Regions from separate parts of the Homo sapiens genome. Here region 1 is linked to region 2. Evidence: promoter capture Hi-C in human tissues and cell types (Jung and others, 2019). All regions are on one chromosome and are shown on one strand. The core of a region is centred on a gene start or on the middle of the fragment in contact, and the rest is flanking DNA. Distances in the headings are between cores, read along the strand shown.

Evidence for each region. Contacts are between HindIII fragments. The study calls those that stand out against the background at their distance.
Region 1: a contact is called between a fragment that was not itself captured here and the fragment with the promoter of TPK1 in region 2, in 1 of the 25 tissues and cell types used here (dorsolateral prefrontal cortex).

What each region holds. Positions count from the first base shown.
Region 1 is chr7:144,463,390-144,466,552 of GRCh38, forward strand. All of the region lies in intron 8 of TPK1 (thiamin pyrophosphokinase 1), which reads right to left. Among named protein-coding and RNA genes, the nearest start is that of NOBOX, 61 kb to the left of the region's middle. The HindIII fragment of the contact is 4,814 bases long and covers 1-3,163 here.
Region 2 is chr7:144,834,803-144,838,032 of GRCh38, forward strand. TPK1 (thiamin pyrophosphokinase 1) reads right to left here and starts at 1,251. Exons shown (of 9, transcript NM_022445.4): 1 at 1,165-1,251; 2 at 758-816. The coding sequence starts at 800. RefSeq lists a silencer at 992-1,091 and an enhancer at 1,392-1,461. The HindIII fragment of the contact is 4,228 bases long and covers 869-3,230 here.

The sequences.
Region 1 (3,163 bases), core at 87-2,586, 370 kb before region 2:
CCTCAGGTGACCTCAGCATCCATTTGTAAAATGCCAATAATACTTGTCCCCAGTTACCTCTAATACTGCTATCGTGAAGATGAATGAGTTAATGTCTGTGAAGAGCTTTGACTTCTCCAGAAAAGTGTTGAAAATGTGTTGTATTATTATCATCATTTCATCTGCACTGAGGAAGCTTTAAAGTGGCATTTGCTTCTATCCTTCAAATGTCAACAGAGATTATTACAGGTACATCAAACAAACAGAAATGTCATAGAAAAGTGAAAAAAGAGAGGAACATGTGCAGTAGCATGGTATGATTACTTAACATCAATCTCAAACCTGCAGGTGGTATTTATACAAATAAGCTAAAGAGACATAATCCAGGCCCTTTTAGAATTTACCAGTCAAGAGGGTCTCTGTGAATCTGCTGTGATTCTGGGGGCTGCCGGATTTGCAAATCGTTCACTGCTCAATTGAACTCTTTTAAATTTAATTCGGCTGAAGTTTTTCTTTTATCAGATGGTGTCAGAAGTGGGATCCAAAATGGAGCTTCTAGCATCCCCCAGCAGTGCTGAGTGAATATGCAAGGTACCTGCAGGACCCACTTGTGTCCACTCATCTCTTAGAGCTGCTGGGGATCATGGGTAAGCTCCTTCTTGGATTTCGGAGCTCCGCTGATCTCTCACAGCCACTGGGGATCATGGGTAAGCTCCCTCTTGGATTTCCGAGCTCCACTGATCTCTCACAGCCACTGGGGATCATGGTTAAGCTCCCTCTTGGATTTCCCAGCTCCACAGATTTGTGTTTTGAGCTCTCTGAGTTTCTTTGAGCAAATTTCTGATCCAAACTGGGTTTGGAGTTGTGACAGAAACTGGACTGGGTACAGGAATGGATTTGATCTGGGAATTAACTGGCTTGGATCCAGTTAGAAGCCTCTTACATCTGACTGGGTCAGAAAGGAACTGGTAGTAAGCAGTAATATTGCAGGAGTTATAAAATTTGGCTTTTGAAAAATCAGATTTTTGTGTTATACCCCTTTGTTTCATTTTTCTTACACTTGGGTAGGAAAAAAAAATCACTGGCTAAGTTAATCAAGAGAAGCTGAGCGTAAGGCCAATATTTTAGGTAAAAATGGGATCCTTAGTTTCTGGAAAACTGAGTTCTTTCTGGCTTACACTTCAGGCCTGGGAGGCAGCGAAGTCTTACAGAAACAGCAAAATGTTACTAAAGATAACACAGTGGAATGTTCCGAATGAACAACAATGCATTTGAAGTACATTTTTAAAATGAGGGCTCTAAGTAAAGTCCCTTTTGTCTAAGAATGGGTTTGGCACTACAGCATGTCAACTGCTATTCTCTTTGGAATAATCTGCCTTGCACTCTTTGCTGACAACTGTGGGTGACAGGATTAGGCATGTACAGGATCGTGGGACATGGGGAGCTTTTTCCTCCCTAAAAGGGGAAACTTGAGAGATGATGGGCCTGCTGGAAAAGATCCCTTCGCTACCTAGAAGCAGCCGCCTGAACTTTTTTTTCAGTGTCGCTGCAATGGGTGGGTCTTTCTCTGGCCTCCCAGATCATTTCACCTTCCCCACCCTGCCTCAGGCAATGCTTTTCTCTTTCTCCTTTCTCTTTCTTATCTTTTCTATTACTCAGGGCAACCATCTTGCCCAGAGACCACAGGTTGAAACTCCTGGTTGGAGGTTGGATTAATGATGATGGAGCCCAACCAGGTGCAAATTTGAGCCTTGCCAGTTTGATACTGGGTGCTAATCAGAGCAGCTAATGTCTATGTTTTTGTCACATGTATTTTACTCTGGCCAGAACAGAAAAAGATAATTTTCTTTTCTGATGTGGCTTTGCCCCAGCGCGATGGTGTGGCAAGCTCAGTCATGGAGGCCGCTCAGGCAAAGAGAACCCAGAAGCCTGGCATGCCGGCAAAAGGGTAAGAATTTCTTACCAGTCAGACTTCTGGCTTCTCTCTTTCTGTGCAAATGGTTGACTGAATGGTAAAAATCACTGTTTATCTCCATCTTGTTTTATGTCCTTGGGAGCTTGACCTTGTTACCACGTGGCAGTACTTTCTCTTGGTCTCCTCCTTCCAGGGAACAGGAATTTTAGGGTTTATGTCATAATTAGCTCTAAAAATTATCTTGAGTAGTTAAAAGCCTGTGTAAGCTCACAATTAACTATTCTAGATGCTTTCTGGGAAGAACAGTGAAGACTGCCCTATGCTGTAGCTCAGTTGCTAAGGCTTTGCCCTTTCTTACTGGTGGTCTGGTTTCGATTCCCTGCTTGTGAAATAAAAGCCTTTTCATTTAATTTCTGCATGACCTTGTCTAGTCTCTTCTCCTTCATGTACTATCTTAAATTTTCCTTTCGCTGAGCACCTGGGAGGTTACCTTTGGTAAAGTTCAAAAGCCGGAAATATCGGAGTGAAGGTTAGGTACTATTAGAAGTCAATTTTCCATTTATTTGTGCTTGGGAAGATCTAGTCAAATTAACCAGATGACTGAATCCTTGAATTTACAGAAAGCCCTTGAAGTTCTGAAAGATTTGCCATGTAAATCCCTCTAAGATTCTGGCTCAATCTTGATCAATTCAGCCAGACCAACTGGTCCACTCAGGCCACCTCTTGCTGGTGAAATTCCCGCTCCTCTCACAAAGGCATCTTCCCTGCTGCCTGTGTCCCTACGCGGTGCCCTGCTTTCCTCTTTGGCTCCACTGCCCACTCGAGATTCCCTGTTACAGTGAGTACCTGCCACTCTAGCTCCTCCAGATCTCCTGCCACCCTCCTGCACCAGCCCCTCCCCGACCCCTGCTTTACCCTACGAGGGCCACCGGCATGACTTGACCTCTGCTCCTTTAATAATAGATGGTTCTTTCTTATATCTCAGCCTGAAACTGTGACAGTCCCGAAAATGAAATCTCAGTGGTCATGGTGGCTTTTCATTGTCTTGTGGAAAAATATTTACAACACAGAAATAGGGGATGAGTGTTTACCATCAAGCAGAATCCATTCAATCATATGGCTGTTTTTAGAATAGAATTTCATTTAGTGAGAGTCTGACCGCTGCCTTTTGGGGAAAACATCATTTGATTTAAGTTCAGATGGTCTAATATTAACAGATATGATTTGTTATAGCAAAGGTAATGAAGCAATGTCTTAGACTTTGTCCAT
Region 2 (3,230 bases), core at 1-2,500:
GCCAGCCCATTCACCAGATGAGGCAAAAACCCAAGATAAATATCTGAGCAAGTCACGTAGACTGGGGCCCCCGAGCCCCAATACCAAGCGCCCCTTTATAAGCTCTTACATTTTGTCCAAATTTGAAATGGTTTCGTTAAGGCAGAAGCTTGGACTACTTCCCCATTGCTAGCTTTGGAAAGTAGTCACTTTCCTTTCCGGGCCCTTCGTCCTTGTTGATTGGCTCTGCAAGCAGCGAGCAGCCCAGCCTGAACTCGGTTACACAGTAATTTCAAATCTTAGAAGAATAAAATATCCTGAGTGTTATATAGATTTAAAACACTTGATATAATCATTTGCCAATCTTTTATTAGATAAGCTCGGGGCACTTTCAATGGATTAAAAATGCATCACGGTCAGGCAACGATGACCGTCCTTAATGCCTGCAATGTCTAATGTTCCGCTATGTTCCAGATTTGTTCGCGCTGTTGGTGGAGGCGCAACAGCCGGGAAGCGCTTACTGGGCTCCACACGGACTACACACACTGTATCTTGTCATTTCGTCCTCACAGCAAGGACTGATACGTAAGCTCATTTTTCAGATGAGGAAAATGAGACCGGCGAGAGGCTGATATGCTTAGCGGTACAGAGCTAGGAAATCAGGGACAGAACCCAGGCTGGAAGTCACGCTGGCTCTAGAGCCCCGTCCTTTCGACCTGTTCCCGTCGCTGGGGAGGGGCACGTCAGTGACACTAAACCGTGGAAAGAAATACAGTACCAGTGGAAAGCAGGGGCTCCAACGGGGTAAAGGCATGCTCCATAACGGATTATTGGCCTCTGCATTAAAAAAAAAAAAGTGAAGTTAGACTCTCAGTTTTAATTAAACATCGCGCAGAACCAACAGCACGGGAGCCGCCTGAACCTGGCACTCGGCAGCGGCGCGCTCCGGGACCCAGGAGCCAGCTGAGCTGCGGCGCAGCACCCGGCGCTGGGGACCCGCCACGGCTCGCCTACAGCACCGCCGCGGGCGGGGGCCCCCGGAGACCGGCCGCGCGGGCCGCTATGAGGTCCGAGGGGTTGCCCCTGCCGCCTCTCTCCGCGAACCCATCACCATCCGGGAACCTGGGGAGCGAGAGGCGGCCGCCCCCTTCCGCGGCCCGCGCGCCCGGCAGCAGTCGCACTTACACAATGGCTGGTAGGAGCCACAGACTGGAGATCGCAGGCTGCGGGAGCTACGGCGATCGACCGCTCGGCGCTCGGCTGAGGAGCCTTGGCGCGCGGTCCTCGCTCGCAGGTTTTAGCCCCCGGGACGCGAGGTGGCCCCGCCCGCTTCCGGGAGCCGGAGGCAAGTGGGAGCCGCGCCCTGTGCTCTGCGTCCGGCACTACCCACCTCAAGTCTCCAAGGCTTCGTTTTCTGGGCTGGTTCTGCTAGCTGTAGTACTGCTGCCGGGCCCTCTGCACTCAGCTTTAACAAGGAGGCCATTTGCTTCAAACTAAGTGGCGAATTCCCTATCACCCATGCTTGACCTAGCTTCCAAGCCAAACTTACTTTCCACTGTGCTGCTTCTAGTCCTGCTACCGGTGTCCTCCCTGAGCCGTCGGGTTAAAAGCTTTCCTTCCTGGCCGGGTGCGGTGACTCACGCCTGTAATCCCAGCAGTTTGGGAGGCCGAGGCGGACGGATCATGAGGTCAGAAGTTCGAGACCAGCCTGGCCAGCATGGTGAAACCTCGTCTCTACTAAAAATACAAAAAATTAGCCGGGCATGGTGGCGCGCGCCTGTAGGCCCAGCTACTCGGGAGGCCGAGGCAGGAGAATCGCTTGAACCCGGGAGGCCGGAGGTTGCAGTGAGCCAAGATCACACCAGTGCACTCCAGTCTGGGCGACAAAGCGAGACTCCATCTCAAAGAAAAAAAAAAAGCTTTCTTTAGGGAACACTCCGTTAAGAGCTTTCCTTACTTTGCTTTGTGGAAACAGAATGTTTTTGTTGGAAGAAACTTTAAGCCACCTATCTGCAGCTGCAGAGCGTCACTGTTGCAATACAGGCTTTTCCAATAGTGAGCGAACCTAATCTCCCTCTACCCTCTTAAGGTTTCCACCTGGGCCTAAGAGGTTAAATTGACTTAAGACAGTTTAACAGGGGAAAAGCTTACAGCTATGTGCATGGGAGTCCACAAGAAAAGACCCAAAGAAGGAGGAAGCCTAAATGCTTATATACGGGTTTAGCTACAACAAATTTCAAAAGTCCATGTTTAAATATGACCTTAATGAACCTAAAAGACAATTGGGGTACAAGGAAACTATCTGCACATGTAATAGACAAGTGGTTGCCATGTGTTTATCCTATGAAGAGCTGTTACCAGTTGATGTGTCCAGGTTCTTGGCGTCTTGAACAAAGAATTGGACAAAACGCACAAAGCAAGGAAAGAATGAAGCAAAAACAGAGATTTATTGAAGATGAAAGTACACCCCATAGGTTGGGAGCGCCCGAGGATAGGGGCTCAAGAGTGCCGTTAGAGAATGTTCTGGGGTTTAAATGCCAGCTAGAGGTTTCCATTGGTTACTTGGCTTATGCCCTATGTAAATGAAGAGGATGAAGTAAATTTTAAAGTCATTTACTGGATATAAGCCCTGTGTAAATGGAGAGGATGTTTCCTGTCATTGCTGAAGTACTGCAATTTGATTTAGTTCCAGGAAGTCAGCATGAATCGGCCTTAACATTCCCTGCCTCCAGACCCTATTCTGCCTCAGAACTACATGTCCATTAGTAAAAGGCAAACCAGAAAAATTATGACCAAGGATATAAACAGGCAAGGCAAATTATAGAAGGTAGTCAAATGGCAAAAACACATCACCAATATTCAGAACGAAATCTTGAACAATGAATTCAATGGCAGATTGTAACCAATTTTTTAAGCAGTAATAAAAATTTACACTTACTGATCAATTATTATGTTCCAGTCAGTGTTGAGGTCTTTTATATTTTATTTAATTACCCTAAAATGTAGGCTCCAGGAAAACAAGGACCAAAATTTAGTTGTTGGCCCTTGAATCCTCACTCTAGCACAGTTTACTTGTTAATGATTTGTCTCCCCCTACTAGAGAGCTAGCTCTCTAAGGGCAGGAGCCTTGTCTATTTCCTTCCCTGCTATTTCTCCAGCCACACAGTGTGTCTCACCAAGATAAGTTCAGTAAATGTGAAATAAATTAACAAATAATGGGAAAAAAATGGAGAATTATGGTACTTCATACC